5 separate regions of the Homo sapiens genome follow, and all the other regions are linked to region 1. Evidence: promoter capture Hi-C in 16 types of primary human blood cells and fetal thymus (Javierre and others, 2016). All regions are on one chromosome and are shown on one strand. Each heading gives the region's core, a stretch centred on a gene start or on the middle of the fragment in contact. The rest is flanking DNA. Distances are from core to core; before and after follow the strand shown. Region 1 holds the start of SPTSSA (serine palmitoyltransferase small subunit A). Region 2 holds the start of SCFD1 (sec1 family domain containing 1). Region 3 overlaps HECTD1 (HECT domain E3 ubiquitin protein ligase 1). Region 4 holds the start of HEATR5A (HEAT repeat containing 5A). Region 5 holds the start of TRAPPC6B (trafficking protein particle complex subunit 6B).

The links. The method cuts DNA at HindIII sites, captures the fragments that hold promoters and counts their contacts. A CHiCAGO score of 5 or more calls a contact.
Region 2: the fragment with the promoter of SCFD1 here is called in contact with the fragment with the promoter of SPTSSA in region 1 in 1 of 17 cell types (M1 macrophages); the score reaches 7.4 in M1 macrophages.
Region 3: a fragment that was not itself captured here is called in contact with the fragment with the promoter of SPTSSA in region 1 in 2 of 17 cell types (total B cells and naive B cells); the score reaches 6.1 in total B cells.
Region 4: a contact is called between the fragment with the promoter of HEATR5A here and the fragment with the promoter of SPTSSA in region 1, in 1 of 17 cell types (M1 macrophages). The highest score is 5.3, in M1 macrophages.
Region 5: a contact is called between the fragment with the promoter of TRAPPC6B here and the fragment with the promoter of SPTSSA in region 1, in 2 of 17 cell types (monocytes and naive B cells). The highest score is 12.0, in monocytes.

What each region holds. Positions count from the first base shown.
Region 1 is chr14:34,459,639-34,463,578 of GRCh38, reverse strand. It overlaps SPTSSA (serine palmitoyltransferase small subunit A), which reads left to right and starts at 1,339. Exons shown (of 2, transcript NM_138288.4): 1 at 1,339-1,483. The coding sequence starts at 1,372. RefSeq lists silencers at 817-1,326, 1,447-1,616 and enhancers at 526-1,476, 2,017-2,126. The HindIII fragment of the contact is 5,560 bases long and covers 1-3,587 here.
Region 2 is chr14:30,620,477-30,624,184 of GRCh38, reverse strand. SCFD1 (sec1 family domain containing 1) reads right to left here and starts at 1,866. Exons shown (of 25, transcript NM_016106.4): 1 at 1,786-1,866. The coding sequence starts at 1,846. RefSeq lists enhancers at 1,584-2,263, 1,333-2,532. The HindIII fragment of the contact is 1,359 bases long and covers 1,760-3,118 here.
Region 3 is chr14:31,193,668-31,197,436 of GRCh38, reverse strand. The region is part of intron 2 of HECTD1 (HECT domain E3 ubiquitin protein ligase 1); the gene reads left to right. Among named protein-coding and RNA genes, the nearest start is that of HECTD1, 12 kb to the left of the region's middle. The HindIII fragment of the contact is 3,027 bases long and covers 1-2,932 here.
Region 4 is chr14:31,419,218-31,422,988 of GRCh38, reverse strand. It overlaps HEATR5A (HEAT repeat containing 5A), which reads left to right and starts at 2,439. Exons shown (of 36, transcript NM_015473.4): 1 at 2,439-2,517. It overlaps HEATR5A-DT (HEATR5A divergent transcript), which reads right to left and starts at 2,231. Exons shown (of 4, transcript NR_110045.1): 1 at 2,012-2,231; 2 at 1,021-1,145. RefSeq lists enhancers at 2,119-2,268, 2,699-2,748 and a silencer at 2,859-2,978. The HindIII fragment of the contact is 6,619 bases long and covers 1-3,126 here.
Region 5 is chr14:39,168,263-39,171,737 of GRCh38, reverse strand. TRAPPC6B (trafficking protein particle complex subunit 6B) reads left to right here and starts at 1,405. Exons shown (of 6, transcript NM_001079537.2): 1 at 1,405-1,723. The coding sequence starts at 1,643. RefSeq lists enhancers at 178-767, 1,549-1,598, 1,358-1,947. The HindIII fragment of the contact is 6,900 bases long and covers 1-1,624 here.

The DNA.
Region 1 (3,940 bases), core at 90-2,589:
CTCGACCTCCCGTGCTCGAGCAATCCTCCCGCCTCAACCTCCTGAGTAGCTGGGACTACAGGTGCACGCCACCACCCCTGGCTAACTTTTTGTTATGTATTTACTTATTTTTTTTGGTAGAGACGGGGTTTCACCATGTTGCTCAGGCTGGTCTCGACCTTCTGGACTCAAGTGATCCGCCAGCCTCAGCCTCCCAAAGTGCTTGGATTACAGGCATGAGCTACGGCGCTTGGCCGGCACTTGGTACTTTTAATGAATAGTTATTAACCATGAAACTTTTAAAGTTTAAGCAGTAGTATGTTTAACCTGGAAGACTTTTAACATTTAAACAGCAGGCCATTTAATTGTGGCAGTTCACATGCTACACCAGTGCATGGAGCTCCTTGTGGCCAGTGCAATGTTGCTGGCCCATCTGGCAGTGGGAAAATCTGGGCATCCAGGAGTGCATCTCTAGGGAAGTATCACCAGCCCTCACACCAATCTCAAGCTGCCTGTCTTCTGCAGAACCCACTAGATCAGCGCGCTTCTGGCCTTGACCCACTTGGTGGTTACCTACAGCCACTAAGAGGTGGGCAGATAGATGTTTTTGGTAAGTGGTCTCTGGGTTAGGGAGTGCATGGGTTATGTCCGTCTAGGGGTGTGTGTGTGTGTGTGTGTGTGTGTGTGTGTGTGTGTGTGTGTGTGCATGGGTGGGGGAAGGGAGGAAGGAGGCCGAATGTGCATCCCTTCTACAAGGACGCCTTTCCAGACCTCCTTATTAGGTGGCGTTCGCCTCCTCACCCTCTCTCAGCCCCTTATCTCCTCTTACACGGATCACGACTTGATTAATGCTTGTCTCCCAGCTAGGCCGCCAGCTGCACAAGGTAAGGAACCGAAGGCATTCCGGTTCTCCCTGGCAATCCTCCTTCTCAGAAGGATGCCTGAGGCATAACAAGTGTTCCAGAAATATTTCTTCCGCAAGCGCTCTGGGCCAGTCTGGACGGACCGAGCGCCCGCTGGGCTGCGGGGGCCCCGGGACCCCGGCCGGCACTGACGCCCCGCCCACCACCGGCCGGCCCGGGCGGGGTGGGGCGCGGCTGGGCGCTCTCGCGGGGACCGTTCTCCGGCTAGCGTGGGCGATGCCCGGGCGGGGAAACGGGAGGGGACGACGCGACGCGAGGTAGCGGCCTGGCCAATGAGCGCGGGTCGGGCGGGGCTGGGGGCCGGCGGCCGGGGCGCGCGCGGGTCTGGGCGTGCCGCGGGTGACGGCGGGGCCGGGCGGGCCAATGGGCGCTGGGTGGCGGGCGGGCGGGCCTGGCGGCCGGGGGCTTTAGGACGTGAGCGGGCGGCCGGCCGGACAGACTGACGTGTGAGCTGCATCGCGGGAGGCGCATGGCGGGGATGGCGCTGGCGCGGGCCTGGAAGCAGATGTCCTGGTTCTACTACCAGTACCTGCTGGTCACGGCGCTCTACATGCTGGAGCCCTGGGAGCGGACGGTGTTCAGTATCCTGTCCCGGCCGCGCGCGCGGGGGCCGGGCTGGGGGCGCGGGCCGCGGGGCCGCATTTCCCCAGGCCCCGGGCCTGGGGTGGAGGCTGGAGCGGCGGCCCCGCCGGTCCTGTGCGCGGAAGCCGGGGGTGCAGGGGGAGGTCTGGGGGCCGAGGGCGGCGCTCGCGGGGTTAAGTGGGGGGTGGGGGAGACGAGAACTCTTGAGATCCGGGGTCACCTGTGAGTCGCTGGACCCAAGGGGGAAGCGTCTTGATTCCTGGAGGAAATCTCCGAAGGTGATGTGTAACCCTGTGTGTCGCCTGCACTTCGGCCGCAACTGCCTTTGGTTCAGTCCCCTGTTCCTGTAGGAGGCGGGGATCATGTAACAGTGGAGCACATCGCTCCCGGCTTGGACGCCTTTGACCTTTAAGTGTTCCTGATTTAGTTGGCTTTGGGTCTACCAAGAATTCTAGTCAGTTAACTAGCTTTTAAGCCAGGTTCTGAATTTGTAGGCATGACACTCCAGTAGTTTTTGAAAGCAGTTTAAGTTATTGTATCTTTTTGGTCTTCAAGTTGGGGAGTTTTAAAAGTGTATTTATTGCTTCTGTGCACCGTCCGTAGAAGTCGGCCCGAAAAGTGGTGCAATTTGTGGTTAGTTGTCGGTAGGGTTTGAAACTGTGTTTTGGTGGATAGTTAATAAATTCTTGTTAATGACTATTGAGTGGTTACTATAAGCAAAGCATTTGTGCAAAGCACGTTGTCTGTATCTTAACTCATCTAACTTTGAGAACTTCAGTTAATAACTCAGGGTTGTGAAGATAGGCTCCCTGAAAGTCTGATGTTTCTTGTCTCTGCTTGTCCATATTGACATCCTTTGATGATATTCTTGCAGATTAAATACTGATAATGAATGAGATGTAACTTTTAAAAAACTCAGGCCAATACAAAACAGGTATTTCACAAAACATGTTTAGTTTATCCACGTTCTCTCCTTTTCAGTGTGGTTTAGTTGGAGTAGCTTACTTCAGAATAACTTTGCGAATGCATTGTTGCATTCCAGTGAGTGACTGAGGTAATTTCATTCTAAGCCTTATCAAGTGTGTTTATTTGTTTTGAGATAGCTTAAGGTTGTACTCAAAGCTGAGTCTTTTGTTTAAGCACTTTTGAGGAATTTGAGATGCTTTCAAAGCAGTTTATTTATTTATTACTGTTGGCATTTCTTTCCAAACCTGGAATTTAAGAACCAGAATGCATATTTTGGATTTAGACTCTGAATATAGTTTGCTTTGATTTCCTGCACCATTTATTTGTAGCTGCAGTTTAGTCTCACTCTTTAGGGCTCGCAAGGTCATGCCTTGTAAAATATATACTTGAATGCATATTTAATAGAAGTCTCTCAGTAGAAGCAAGTATATCTTGACTGACATAACACATCCTAAAATTAATTTAAACAATGCTGGGTTAAAATGAAACTCTTTAAATCAGAGGTTGAATGTAGAGTGCACTATTAGAATCTAGTATAGATTTGACACCTAAAATCTAATATAGATTTTACACACTAAAATGCTACAGTTATCAATGATGTTAAGATTTTTCTGTTATGTTGCAATAGTGATAGTGTCCTATAAATAACTAGGTGATGCCTTTTTTGGGGGATGGAGAAATAAATTATGAAATGAAATATAGTGCCTTAGTAGATATTTGCCTTTAATGTTTTTGAGTTACCATGGTTTAGCGACAAGTAGTTTCAATTTTTTTTTCAAATAGGTGAGAACTGCAACCAACTGACATCCAATATTATAGAACCTTATGATTTTAAACTTAAGATAAAAAAATCTTATTTCAAATTTCACGTTATTGAATTAACTCAGGTTAGAAATGCAATTGTTTGACATAAGCCAGTCTTGAATTACTATCAGCTGTTGTATTTATATTTTTCCACTTCAACTTCTAGAATCATTTAAAACTATCTGATAGTTTGGAACATCAATTTGAGATTGAATCCTCATTTTAGCTTGGTGGAAAGAACTGAATGAGAAAACTGGATTTTTTTCCCTACTTGTCAGGAGGCTTACTCTGAAGTAGTTTGAATTTCATAAATCCATTAATGATTAGTAAGCTTCACCCAGAACTAATCTGTGGCCAGCTACAGGCTTTTGGAAAGAGGCATACTTTCTACAGCTTAAACATTACATTCAACTTAATCATCAATCCTAGAAACCTAAAATTTAGAGAAATTTGCCTCTGCCTGTCTGAAAATTTGTCTCTGAGTTAGAAGTCCTGAACAGAGGAAGACTTCAGATTGATTTCTTTTCTTTGTGTGTGTGTGTGTGAGACAGTGTTTTGTTCTTGTTGCCCGGCTGGAGTGTAATGTCGCCATCTTGGCTCACTGCAACCTCCGCCTCCCAGGTTCAAGCGATTCTCCTGCCTCAGCCTCCAGAATAGCCGGGATTACAGGTGCCTGCCACCACGCC
Region 2 (3,708 bases), core at 617-3,116, 3.8 Mb after region 1:
GGGACAGTGAACCAGGAAGAAAGGAGATGGCTTGTGGGATGACCTTCAAAAGATCAATAAAGATTTTTCAGGAGACCAATAAAGATTTTTCAGGCAGGCAAAGCAAGAAACAGGCACGTTAGTTTACCTCTATCTTACTTTCCTCACCTGTAAAATGGAGATAATACATAATCACCTAATGCAATGCCTAACAATAGTAAATGCTCAATAAATGCCAACTATTATCTCATCCACCCAAATATTCTAGTATCTAGAATATTTAAGGACTGTGAGTTATCTCCCAAAACATTCTCCATAGGCATGAGGGAAATAGCTAATTCTGCATTATAATATATATACAAGGATTTACCTTCCTCTGAAAATAAGGCAGAATTCAATGACAGTAAAAATTTGATAAAAAATAGATCTAGCACTACCTAGTAATTCTGTAAAATCTTACTATGTTTATTTCTGCAGAAATACAAACGATTAGATTTTAATGATCTACAAAATTTCTGCATACAAGTTTACGGCCACGCAAATTTATTTTTCAAAAAGCTCTCTTGTATTGGTACAGTTTTACTGACACGTTATTTTAATATGTAGTATAGTCATCAGAAACACAGTATTAAAACAAATGGAGCTTCCATTTGTTTAAACATATACAACGAATGGCAGGTATGCCCCAAATCTTATTTGAACTTCCCTATATTTAGTTATGCCTGACTTCACCTGATAGGTTATACTAAATTATTTACTGGGAAAAGCAGAACGCAACTCAGTATCTTTTGTGTGTCATTACTAAATTGAAGTCTATCACTTTTTCTTTAAATGCCAAAGGAAGGAATCAAGTACAGCCCAAATCCCTTCTGTAGGTCATATGAATTATAAATTTATTTTCCTATTCATATTTATATCCAACAGAGCATAATTTCAGGAAACAGAATTCCAAGTATGCACATTCTTGATGCCTTATTTCTATTAGCTCCTCAGAATAAATTGCTTGAAAACTTTTAAGACAACTAGTTAACAAGTATAAACCTTTAGTTTGTAGCTAACAGGTATAAACCAAGTTGTCATGAGAAGTTTTCAAGTAAGGCAAAACTAATTTCTAAGACGGAAAAAAACCCAAAACTCAAGAGAAGAATATGTGCCTTTTTACATTTCTCTGCATAAATAGAAGCTATATAAACATGCTCTATTGAAGATAAAATATTATTTTAAAACAATGTGTCAAACAATTAAAATGAGAAAGCTATTAATTCATTTGTTTTGCCATTCTTCAATGCCTTCCAGCAAGCTGAAGGAGAAAATGTTTATCACCAGGCATTTTTCTGCAGGTACCCCCAAAAGACTGGTCCGAAGTAGAGAAGTGGCGCAAAGCAAGCCGCTGTGAAAATACCTAAATTCTCTGAGTGTCAGAAAATGGGAGTTCTCTTAAAAATCAAAACCAGGAGAACTGAACCACGCACAGAAACTCGGAGACCTCATAGGTGGCAACATAGATAAGAAGCTATCAGCTGCTAGATCTTGTTGTGATGGCCTTCTGATGCCCACTAGGAAGGAGACAAGAGCAGGGCCGTAGCAATCCGCCCACCGCTGAAGCTCCTTCTCCTGCACCACAGGAGGAACCGAGTCCTCAAGCTAATGGCAACTTCTCCCCAAAAACTCAAAGGGGAGGGGCTCTTGATGTTCTAGGGACTGGATTAAACTCCTGGAGATCGGTCTCTGAGCTGCACGCACCAGAGGAGAAGGATGTCGTCGGGGCAGTCACGAAGCTTCAAGGAGAAGAGAATAAGTCAGTACCTGTCTGCCTTTCCCGAATACTGGCTGCTGCTGCTGCTGTCGCTGCCGCCGCCGCCGCCATCTTGGCTCCCACGAGCCACTGCCCGGCTGGGGAGCGGAGCGGGGGGATGACGTGGCTGCCCTTACCGCCCCGGAAGCAAAGCCCGGAAGGGCGGGGCCAAAGGGTGTGCCTGAGTTCCGGACCCCACCTCCTCCAGGAAGACCTCCACTCTCGGTAGAACTGGGAGACCCGGTGCAGGTTAATTCAGTGGCCCGTAATGTTAGGCGAATACTAAGAGTTTTTATCCTACCGAATCAAGCCACACTCTCTCAAATGGTAGCAACATTAAATTGAGCTGTTAGGGTAGGAGCGTGTAGTGCTAAGAACCTAATTACTGAACTGTTGGTTTGGTGACTTACAGAGCACTTAAAGGGTGATAATGCTCTAGGAGTATAAGGACCACAGGACTGAAGTAAATGAAGCTCCTGAAACACAGGCAACATTTTAACGTTAGCTCTCGTTTCTCAGTGCAGCAGGAGTCTTCCCTTTGCTCCTTTCTCCAGAGAAACGGAAAGCATTGGAGCATTACTCTGATCTGGCATATTTCTCAGTCGCATCTCTTTAAAAAAAAAGGTGTAGCTTTATGGTGGCGTTCTGCCGGCATGGACACGGGATCCAGGGAGGTACAAAATGAGAAATTAGCATTTCTCCTCTTTCCTTGTAGTAATTGCAAAATCACCTTGCCGTGGGAAGGAAGTCAAGCAGTAGTGGGGTGTGTTGCCTAGGCTGGAGCGCGCAATCAGGGATCACTGCAGCCTCAAATTCTGACGGTCAAACGATCCTCCTGCTTCAGTCTCCCAAGTAGCTAGGGACTACAGGGGCACACCATCAGGCCAGGCTGATGTGCTGGTTTTTGTTGTTGTTTTGTTTTTGAGATAGTATCTCACTGTCTGTCGCTCAGGCTGGAGTGCAGTGGCAGAATCTCGGCTCACTGTAGTCTCGACCTCCCGGACTCAAGCGATCCTCCCAAACTATCCTTCCACCTCAGACTGCCCACTAGTTGGGACTATAGGCAGGGGTCACCACGCCCGGCTAAATTTTTTTTTTTTTTTTTTGTAGAGACGGGGATTCACCATGTTGGCCAGGCTGGTCTTGTGCTGGCGGTTTAATGTACACTTGAAGCCACGTGACCGCAAAATATATGGGATAGATGATTTCTAACTTAATCCATAGATTTTACTGTATGACCAAAATGGATACACAATGACACCTCATTTCCCGAGTTCATTGATGACGCTTCATTATGAAGTTGCACCAAATTCTGAAATGAAATCACTCTGTACCTCAAAAGCTTAACTTTCACAATTATATAAATGAAATGGTTAGCCTAACGATTATATATTGTTTTATAGTGTGAAACACTGGCTTTTTTCATTAATAAAAATTTATTTTTGTGACATTTAAAACAGGTTATCTTATTACATAATCTCTGCCGGGTGCGGTGGCTCACGCCTGTAATCCCAGCACTTTGGGAGGTAGAGGTGGGCAGATCACCTGACGTCAGTAGTTCGAGACCAGCCTGGCCAACATGGTGAAACCCGGTCTCTACTAAAAATACAAAATTAGCCGGGTGTGGTGGTGGGCGCCTTTAATCCCAGCTACTGGGGAGGCTGAGGCAGGAAGAACTGCTTGAACCTGGGAGGCGGAGGATGCAGTGAGCAGAGATCGCGCCACTGCACTCCAGCCTGGGTGACTGAGTGAGATTCTGTCTCAAAAAAGAAAAAAAAATTATGTAATCTCATTTTTATAGCTAATTGGCACATTCATTAAGAAATTAACTGGAATACATGTGTGTCTTCAGTACTATTACTAATATTTTGAAGGAATCTTCAATGATCTAGGTGTGTTCCAACTAAACAAATTATTTCTGCCCTATGGGAAAG
Region 3 (3,769 bases), core at 170-2,669, 3.3 Mb after region 1:
GAGATTGGTTTTAGGCAGAAAGAAGTTGTGTACTGCCGTTGTAACAGAGAAGATAGAGACGTTAGATGCACATGTTTTGGGTTTGATGGTAAAAAGTTAAGGGCTGGGACTGGGCGTGGTGGCTCATGCCTATCTGCAGTCCCAGCACTTTGGGAGGCCGAGGTGGGTGGATCAGTTGAGGTCAGGAGTTCGAGACCAGCCACGGTGCCTGGCCCTGAGTTATAGTCTTAAAAATTGATTTGCCTGTGCTACTCCCTTTTACAGAATCTGTTGGGTTCTTCACCTACAGGATCAAATTTAAATGTCTTCAAAGACCCCTCCTGCATATTCTCACATGTATACACTACTTCCACTTTACTATACTTTCAGTTCTCCACTGGACTACGAGCTCGTCTTTGTTTTCCCATTGCTAAGCATAGTGCCTGGCACACAAATAGCTAATATCCAGATACTGAAGGAGTGAATTGAAGAGATTGCTTATATTGGACCTGTTTTCCACCTAATGCCTAAAATGCCCATGGAAGGTATTTGTGGAGTTGAGAAACTTGTTGTTAGTATGCAGGAGGAAGAGTATTGTATTCTTTTTTGTTTTTTTTTTTAGCAGATACAGTATCAATAAGTACTTTCCTTACTTTCTACCATTAATATACCTGCCTTTTCTTTCTTTTTTTTTTTTTTGTTTTGAGACGGAGTCTTGCTCTGTCGTGTAGGCTGGAGTGCAGTGGCGCAATCTCGGCTCACTGTAACCTCTGCCTCCCGGGTTCAAGCAATGCTTCTGCCTTAGCCTTCTGAGTAGCTGGGACTACAGGCGCACACCACCATGCCCAGCCAATTTTTGTATTTTTTAGTAGAGACAGGGTTTCACCATATAGGCCAGGCTGGTCTCGAACTCCTGACCTCGTGATCCTCCCGCCTCGGCCTCCCAAAGTGCTGGGATTACAGGTGTGAGCCACTGCGCCCGACCTGTACCTGCCTTTTCTATATTGACCTGTTTTCTTCTACCCAATGGCAGAGTAATAGGGAAATGAATTACTTTTGTTGATCAGCCCTGACCCTTTACTGGAGAAGGAATGTTCATTGATATATCAAATATGTATAATCCTCAAGAGTTAAATAAATGAGCTGAACACGGTGGCTCATGCTTGTAATCCCGATACTTTGGGAGGCTGAGTCAGGTGGATGACTTAAATTCCGGAGTACAAGTCCAACCTGGCCAACATGGCGAAGAAACCCCCTCCCTACTAAAAATAGAAAAATTAGCAGGGTGTGGTGGCACATTCCTGTAATCCCAGCTTCTCAGGAGGCTGAGGCACGAGAATCGCTTGAACTCGGGAGGTGTAGGTTGCAGTGAGCCCAGATTGCACTACCACACTCCAGCCTGGGAGACAGAGTGAGACTCCGTCTCAAAAAAAAAAAAAAAGTTAAATGAATTCCTGTAAACAGACAGCAACTGTGTATGTGCTTCTTTTCAGTGGACAGCAGAGAGAAGTGCTGGAATGAGAAACACTGTCTGTGAGGGTTTACCTGGGACTCCAGGGGGTCCATAGGTGATTAAATTCAGGGAGCTTTTGTGACGATTACCAGAGTTTCTGTCAGCTAAAAAAATGTAGAGGCCAGGCTCCACTGGTGGCTCATGCCTGTAATCCCAGCACTATGGGAGGCCAGGGCGGGTGGATCACCTGATGTCGCGAGTTTGAGACCAGTCTGGCCAATATGGTGAAACCCCATCTCTACTAAAAATACAAAAATTAGCAGAGGTCTGGTGGCATGCGCCTGTAATCTCAGCTACTTGGGAGTCTGAGGCAGGAGAATTGCTTGACCCTGGGAGGCGGAGGTTGCAGTGAGCCGAAATTGCACCACTGTGCTGCAGCCTGGGCTACAGAGTGAGACCTTGTCTCAAAAAAAAAAAAAGTTAAAAACCACTCTTAATAGTTTCAACAGGAAAAATACAAGGAAAATTTATCAGAGATAGATTTTTATCATTTTTATTTATGGGTATGACATTGTGTTTTATAACGCTTTGTAAGTGTACTTTGCATAGTTCTTGACTGTATCATTAGATTGAATTCTTCAGAGTCAGTGAACTCTTTCTTACTCATCTTTGTGTCCCACCCCCAACACTTAGCATAGCACTTGGTGTAGAAAGGCATTCAATAGATGTGTTGAATGAATTGCAGTCAAATTTGTATGTGTATTTTAATTGGAGAAAAGCAAACTTACATCTTATAATTGGACTTTACCCCCTTTTTCTTTGCAAGGGAAAACCACAATTTTCAGCTGCTGTACCAGGAGTTATTTTTAGCTCAGCAATACCAAGAAAGTCAAGGCTGGGAGCAGAGGCAAAAATGGAATATGAAATGGATCAAAAGATGTTGCGTTATTTATTGTCTTTAAGAAACCAGATGTGTTCAGGTTTTTCAGTTAAAATATTTCATTTTTTTAAAATGAAGTGCCTGATTTACAGACTATTTTATAAAATATCTCTACTACAGATAATGCCCTTTATTTTTTTTAAAAACAGTTATATTCTTTCATGTCTTTGCCAATCTTCTGAAATCTTGGCCCAAGTTCAAGTGAAAAAAGCATATGGTAGTTATAATACAGAAAATATTACAGTTCCCAGGGAAATTCTTTCTCTTTGGAACCTCATGTAACCTTTTTTTATTGCTTCCATCAGGGAAAGATTCTGATGTCTTTACAGGTAGCATTTTGGAAACCAGTGCCTAATTTGGAGTCATCTGAAGATTCTTCATAATCTCACTTGTGTGGTTGACTACTCTGACAGGAGTTCTGTATAGACTGATTGATCCTAAAGTTTCCTAAATAGGCTTCCTAATCTATTGGTATTATATTAATAATATAGTACTCACGTTAAGATAATAAAAAAGAAGAATTTCTACCTGTAATGTAAGAGGTAAATACTTGGCAAGCTTAAAATTTTGAGCAACTGTAATTATATATAAAATTTTGTGCCTAGAAGTATCATTTTAGCATTATTCAGGGAGGGCTGTGATTATTCTATGAATGATAGTTAACTTTTTCTTAAATTTGTTTAAATTACATACGGGGAAGTTAGCTTTTTATTATTGTACATTGCTATGAGTCATGTAACCACCACTATAATTGAAATGCAGAACATTTCCATCACTTTGAAACATCATCTAGTGCTGTCCCTTTGAACTCAAACCCTTTCCCCATCCCAATGCCTGGCACTTGGTGGCCTGTTTTCTGTTGATATAGTTTTGACTTTTCTAGAATGTCATGTAAATGGAATCATATATACAATACGTAGTTTTTTGAGTCTGATTTCTTTCACTTAGCATATCGCATTTGAGATTCATCTGTGTTGCTATTGTGTCAATAGTTCATTCTCTTTAGTTGCTAAGTAATATTCCTTTTCATGGATGTTTTGGTGATTATGACCTAAACTGCTATAAACAGTAGTGTATAGATTTTGTGTGTGTGTGAGAACATAAGCTTTTAAAAAATATTTATTTATTTATTTGTTTTTTGAGACAGAGTTTTGCTCTTGTTGCCCAGGCTGGAGTGCAGTGGCGTGATCTTGGCTCACTGCAACCTCCACCTCCCGGGTTCAACCGATTCTTCTGCCTCAGCCTCCCAAGTTGCTGGGATTACAGGTGCCCGCCACCATGCCCGGCTAATTTTTGTATTTTTAGTAGGAACAGGATTTTACCATGTTGGCCAGGCTGGTCTCGAACTCCTGACCTCAGGTGATCTGCCTGCCTCAGCCTCCCAAAGTGCTGGGATT
Region 4 (3,771 bases), core at 1,190-3,689, 3.0 Mb after region 1:
GAATGATGGGGATGTGTCAAAAGGCCTCAGAATGGTAACCTGTTAATGTTGAATCTGGATTATGTGTATATGGTATTTAAAGCTCTTTTAATTATTCTGTATTAAAAAATATTTTACAATAAAATGTTTACAGAATCTAAGGCTGGGGCCAGGCGCGGTGGCTCATGCCTGTAATCTCAGCACTTTGGGAGGCCGAGGCGGGCTGATCATGAGGTCAGGAGTTTGAGACCAGCCTGAGCAACACAGTGAAACCCCGTCTCTACTAAAAATACAAAAATTTGCCAGGTATGGTGGCACACGCCTGTAATCCCAGCTACTCAGGAGCTGAGGCCAGTGAATTGCTTGAACCCGGGAGGCGGAGGCTGCAGTGAGCCAAGATCACACCACTGCACTCCAGCCTGGGTGACAGAGCGAGACTCCGTCTCAAAAAAAAAAAAAAAAAAGAGAGAGAGAATTTAAGGCTGGGTACAGTGGGTCACACCTGTAATCCCAGCACTTTGGGAGGCTGAGGCGGGTGGATCGCTTGGGCCCAGGAGTTCGAGACCAGCCTGGGCAAAATGGTGAAACCCTGTCTCTACAAAAACAAAAACAAACAAACAAAATTAGCCAGGCACAGTGGCACACCCATTGTCCCTGCTACTTGAGTGGCTGAGGTGGGAGAATCACCTGAGCCTAGGAGGTTGAGCCTGCAGTGAGCTGTGATCAGACTACTGCACTCCAGCCTGGGTGACAGAGTGAGACCTTGTCTTCTTGTCTCAAAAAAAAAAAAATTACACACACACACACACACACACAACACAGAAGCTAGAATGAATATGAGACCTTGTCTTCTTGTCTTAAAAAAAAATTGAACACACACACACACACACACACACACACACACACACATATCACAGAAGATAGAATGAATGGGGCCCCTACCCACCAAACTTGGGATAATTGAGCATCAAAATAAATAATGATAGAGACAGAATATTGGCTGGTGTGGTGGTGTGCATGCCTGCAGTCTCAGCTACTTACCTGGGAGGCTGAGGCAGAAGGATCACATGAGCCCAGAAGTTCAAGGCTGTAGTGTGCACCATGATTGCATTATCGACCTGTGAATAGCCACTGCACTCCGGCCTGGGCAACAAAGGAGGCCCTGTCTCAAGAAAAAAAAAAAAAAAAAGAGAGAGAGAAAAGAGAGAAAGAAACGGATTATAAGTCATTTAACAAAATAGAAACCTCTGGATCCATACTAATTAATATAAATACATTAACTGAAGATTTGATGAGAAACAAGATATTTACAAATATCTTGAAAGGAGAGTTTCAGAGTCTCCCTCACAAAATACTTATTAATTTACAAAGGGGGGAAAAAAGTAACCACACTGGACAAGCCTAACAGACATCACCTTATTAAAGTAAACATCTGTAATGAGAGAAGTTAAAATCGTGCCACCTGATAGGGTGCCATGAGAAGAAAGCAGCAACACTTCTAGAGTCCTGTCATACCTAGCTAAATGTAATCATGAGTAAATATCAGACAGACCCAAAATGAAGGCCATTCTACAAAAATAACTGGCCAGGAATCTTTAACAGCGTCAAGAATATGAAAGGCAAGGCAAGACTGAGAGTTCCAGTTTGAAGAGTAGGAAAGATACATGATAAGTAAATACAATGCCTGATTCTGAACGGAATCTTTTACCATAAACAATATTATTGGGACAATTGGTAAAACGCCGAGTTATGTAAATGTTTTGATTTTGATGGTTATATTGTGATTATGTAGAAGGTGCTTAGGGACAATGTGGCATGGTGTCAGCAATTTAAATCTCAATTCAGGGAAAAAAAGTTCTTTGTACTATACTTGCAACCTTTTTGTAAGCTGGAGATAGATTCAAAATGAAACTTGAAAAATGACATTTAAAACGCTGAGTGTAGTGGGAAAACGCACATGACTCAAGGTAAGAGGCTATTAGTCTCAGTTCTGCCATTGACTTAGTATGTGACCTTGAGCAAGTCACTTTACCTCAGTCCTCACAGTCAAGGCTCTCTAGGGTCCCTTCCACGTCTAACATCTACCCCCACAGCACTGGCCCCGCCTGAATTTCTCCAGGCCCTTTAGGTGTCCCAGAGCTGCACCCAAAGACTCTGGCTTACGATAAAAACAGACAAAAATAGTTGTGGCCGGAATCTCCGGACTGAAAAACCGCTGTCCTAATCCTAACTTGGGCCGCAGTCTCCATCGCTCTTTCGACGGTGAAGCAGTCACGCCTGCCAGAGTGGGCGCTCGATGGCTCGGCGGCCAGCTGGCGGGGCCTTGGACCAGCGGCCCGGCGCAGGGCGCGCTCCCAATCGCTAGCTCCCGCGGTGCTCGCCGCTGAGAGCTTTCCGGCCACGCCCCACGCGCGCCCCGCCCACCTCAATGCCTCGCTGTCGCCGCCGCCGGCAATTCCAGACTCTGCTAGGGTTAGCAGAGCAGCCGGTAACGTTGCTGGACCGGGACGCACGCTCAGCTGAGGAGGACCCCCAAAGGCAGGCAGTCGGGGATCCAGGGAGCGGGGACACCTCCGGGCGCGAGGGGGCTGTGTCTGGGCTGCCTGTTGGCTGGGAAGGAGAACGCACCAGGGCCGCTGTATGAGTTGAGCGCTCGGGGATCCCGAGGGTGGTCGCGGCAGCAATGTGATCGCGAAAGAAGCCGGTGGGAGAACCGGTCGAGGGGCTAGGTGTCTTGACCCTAAGGGCTGGAGTCCGCCGAGAAGGGGCTGACTGGGGCACAGGGTCGGCTGATAAACAGCGTGGTCCGTTCTTCCTCCTGGACTACGGGAAAGTCTGGCTTCACCTGTGCACAACAGGTAGGCGTGGACTCTGCCCGCCAGCGGGAGCCGGGGTTGCCGGGCGTGTGGGGAAGGTCAGCAAGTCGGAGCCCGCCTCGCCAACTCGCCGCTCCCGGGACCCGCCCTGCGGCGTCCGCTGCGCCAGTGGTCAGCCAGGAGCCGGGCCCCGGCCCGGCCTTCGGGCGAGCTTCCTCAGAGGCCCGTTCGTTTTCTGCAGGAACCCTCAAAGAGAGTTCCCAGAAGGGAGCAGTGGAGAGTGTGGATATTTGCTTTCTAACTGTTGCAGTTCTCTCCAGGAAAGAAAGCTTTTCCTTTGGTGGCATTTGCTTAGTGTGAGGAAACATTTTCTTTCACCCTACTCTCGGCCAACGCGGCGTTATTTCAAGTGATTATAAAGTCTTTAGAAACTTTATAAAGCGTTTTATAGTGTTTATTTATCACAGTAATGGATACCTCTGGCAAGTTGGGATAATTTTCTTGACTGTCAAGTCAGATAATAATAAAATGGCTTGAGCTCCTACATTAAAGGTCATAGTTATCCATTGTTTTTATGTGCATTCATTTATTGAACAAATATGCAGCACTTTTTTGGGGCTAGGCGCCCTTAAGGAATTTACAGCCTGAAAGATATTAGAAGTTTAAGGAGGAAAAAAAGGGGCCCACAAGTACACTTAAGAACTTCCAGAGAAAATACTCCCAGTGAAATTACTTAAGCTGTAGGGAAAGCAGAAGTGTGGTTAGAATTGAGCATTAGTTGGATGGGGAGAGGAGAATTTTGTTTAATTTTCCAAACATTTTAGAAAGTATGTCTTTGAGAAAGTAATTTTAGATAAAGTATCGAAGCCGAGATTTGTGTTACATTTTAATGCCATTGACTTTTTTTTTTTCTTCACTGATAAGCAGGCAGGATTTATAATATAAGAATAGTGACAGTTGGAGAATACTGTAGTAT
Region 5 (3,475 bases), core at 156-2,655, 4.7 Mb before region 1:
TGAGACGAAGTCTTGCTCTGTCGCCCAGGCTGGAGTGCAGTGGCACAATTTCTGCTCGCTGCAACCTCTGCCTCCCAGGTTCAAGTGATTCTCCTGCCTCAGCCCCCCGAGTAGCTGGGATTACAGGCACCTGTCACCACGCCCGGCTAATTTTTGTATTTTTAGTGGAGACGGGTTTTCACCATGTTGGCCAGGCTGCTCTCAAAACTCATGACCTCGTGATCCCCCCCACCCCCCGTGCCTCGGCCTCCCAAAGTGCTGGATTTTACAGGCATGAGCCACCTTGCGGTATGTTAATTTGGGGGAAAACAACAGGGACAATTGGGGAAAAATTTTGTTTTGTGAATTACCAATGGAAGAACTAATCACAGGCTAAGCAACATGCTTACGGTTGAATTTGCCAAATTTAAGATGTACATACTATGATGTAGCATGTGTATTTATTTGCACATGCAGTGGGACAATTCCTACAGTTGTCTCACACTGCTGTAGATTATTAGCAACTCCATCCTGCAGTGACATCGCTTTTCTGAATTCTATAGCACTTTTCACCTAATCCTCTGATTAGTCTGTATTTTCCGGTTCAAGTGTATCTTGTTTTTCGTTTGCTCCACTTCCCTTGTCCCTTGCACCCCACTAACAGGAAAATTCCTGGTGGTCAAAATGGCTCTAATTCTTTTTGTATACCCGGGCTTAATTCAATAGGAATTGGGATAACTTTTCAATATTTAAAAAATTTGCACTGTGAAAACGTATATTTTAAACTCTTTCTACAACTTTTCATATTTGAAGAACATATGGCAGGAAGTGGATGCTTTTGATGAAGCCAAAAGAATTTTTTTAACTTCTATTGCTAATTAACAAGGAGGTGGCCGCGGGAGCTCTTTTTTTTTTTTTTTTTTTGAGACGGAGTTTCACTCTTGTTGCCCAGGCTGGAGTGCAGTGGCGCGATCTCAGCTCACCGCAACCTCCGCCTCCCGAGTTCAAGCGATTCTCCTGCCTCAGACTCCCGAGTAGCTGGGATTACAGGCATGCACCACCAGGCCCCGCTAATTTTGTACTTATAGTAGAGACGGGGTTTCTCAGGCTGGTTCGAACTTCCGACCTCATGTGATCCACCCGCCTCCGCCACCCAAAGTGCTGGGATTACAGGCGTGAGCCACCGCGCCCGGGCCAGGCGGGAGCTTTAGGTCTTATTTTATCTTGCTCTGCCCCCGACATCGTGGTGAGAGGGGAACCTTCCTCATATCTGGGCGCTGGCCTCTCCGGGCTTGGGAGAGAGGAACTCAGTGATCATAGAGCTGGCCGAATGCCGGGGTAGAGGGGACCGGAAGTTGTTTTTTTCGCCCCCGCCCAGCGGCCGGATCGCATCTCAGCTGGTTGGCTTTGGTTAGAGCTCCCGTCAGACTTTAGTTCGGCCCTAGGATTTGGTAGCCCCGAAGTGTGGGCTCTCTCCAGTACCAGACTCATTTCAGTACCAGCCTTTGGGAAGTCGTGTGAATACCTCGGTCTCTTAGCCACAGGGATAGAATGGCGGCCTGACGGAGCCGCGGCGCCGGCGAAGTCGCTGAGGCGCGAGCTGGAACCCCCAGACCAGCTCAAACGGGAGCCAAAACTCGAAGCTTGGAAGAATTAGCAGGAAATGGCGGATGAGGCGTTGTTTTTGCTTCTCCATAACGAGATGGTGTCTGGAGTGTACAAGTCCGCGGAGCAGGGGGAGGTGGTGAGTGCTGCCACACAACCTTGAGGTCCTTTTGCGGTGACACACCTTGTTTCCCCTCAGTGCTTTCCTTCAACCCCTGTCCCATCGCCACCCGACGCCTCCCGAGGTGTACACAAAATGGTCCACCTCCAGGTGTCCTAAACCCTAGAACCTGTCAGTTGTCTCCTTTGAACCGTCATCTTTCATCGTTTTCTCTTTCGTATCTTCTTCTATTTGATTCTCTTTTGTCTATTCCCGTACGTTTGTCTTGCACGCCACAGATTTTGGTACTTTTAGTGTTGTCCCTGCCATTATTTACGAGAGGGTTAACTGCAGAGCCTACTTAGTTTTGCTGGCACTTCCAGCACTTGAGCCATGCACTGGACAGACCTGTGCCAACCTGAGAAGCCTGTCCCTCCTTCCTCATTCCTAATGCTCAGTACAACTCCACACAACTTGAGACCTGAAGCCTAATGAAGGTTGAGTTTGCAAAGGAAAGTTTGCAGGCGTTAGGATAATTAGGGAACATAATTTAAATTAATTATTTCAGAAAGTATTTATTTAGTGCCCTTATGTCAGAGCGATTTCTAGGTGCCAGGGATATAGTAGTGAATGAAACAATGGCCCCATCCTTGTAGAGATTTTTTTTTAATCTAATTTAATCCGAAATGTGATAGTATGTAGCGGTTACTTCTAATATGTGGGAGTCCTTATTCAATCATTGTGGGCCTGTCACTGCTGACACTGCTAGATAAATTAAATAAAATAATACTCCTGCCTCACAGTATTTAGGGAATAGTGATTTAATGAATAGTTAACACTGAGTATTGGCTGGTAGAATCATGGAGTTGTAACGGATTTTAGAAATACTCCAAAGTCATGCTCAAGTCAGGAGCCCTTTCTTTAATGCTATTGATAAAAAATGAGTGGAGAGTGGGGATAGGAAATGTATCCTAGGCAAAGATAAAGTGGTAGAGGTATGAAAGAGTGGTGGATTTAAATACACTTAAGCATTTCTTTGGACTAGACTGAATAGAGAGTGAGAAGAATTGAGAGGTGAAGTTAGAAAGCTTTGTGTAATTAAAGAATTCGGATCTTTTCGAGGGAATATTTTTAAGGAAGGGAATGATGTGGACCATTTGCATTTTAGAAAAGTAATCCAGTGTTTGGGCTAGAGAGGGAAGATCCTTGTAGGGGGAAAATCCTTTATTACGGGAGTCACTGCAGGAGGAGATGAAGATCTGGATTAAGACAGGGATAGTGAGAAAAGGAGATAACAGATTTGAAAGTTAGAAAGTGGAATTCTGTAGGCCTTGTTTAAGGATGGGAGTGGGAGTTGAAAATTATCGTCAGGTTTTCAGCTTGAGCAGCTGGGTTGGATGGTGGTACTATTAATCAGAAAAGGAAATAAAGGAGAAGAAAAAAATAAGGAGGTAAGATAATGAGTTATTTCGGGGCAGGTTGAACTTTTGAGGTGCCTGTATGACATCCAAAAAAAGGTACTGCCAGTTTGCACAAGAAGGATAGGCAGGATACATTTGGAAGGTTATTGGAAATGAAGCGAATTCTATTCTTATTCAAATGACCCATCTATAATAGAGATTTTTTTCAAGTCACAAACTTCTGACTTTATTATTGACCTCAAGGTTTACTGTTTGTGCAAAGCTAGCCTTCCTTTTCCCTCTAGAACAGTTAACACACCCCTTTTACTTTTTTGTCATAACCCCCGATCCCCCCAAACCACTTGCGTATTCAGTTCTCTTCATTCTCCCC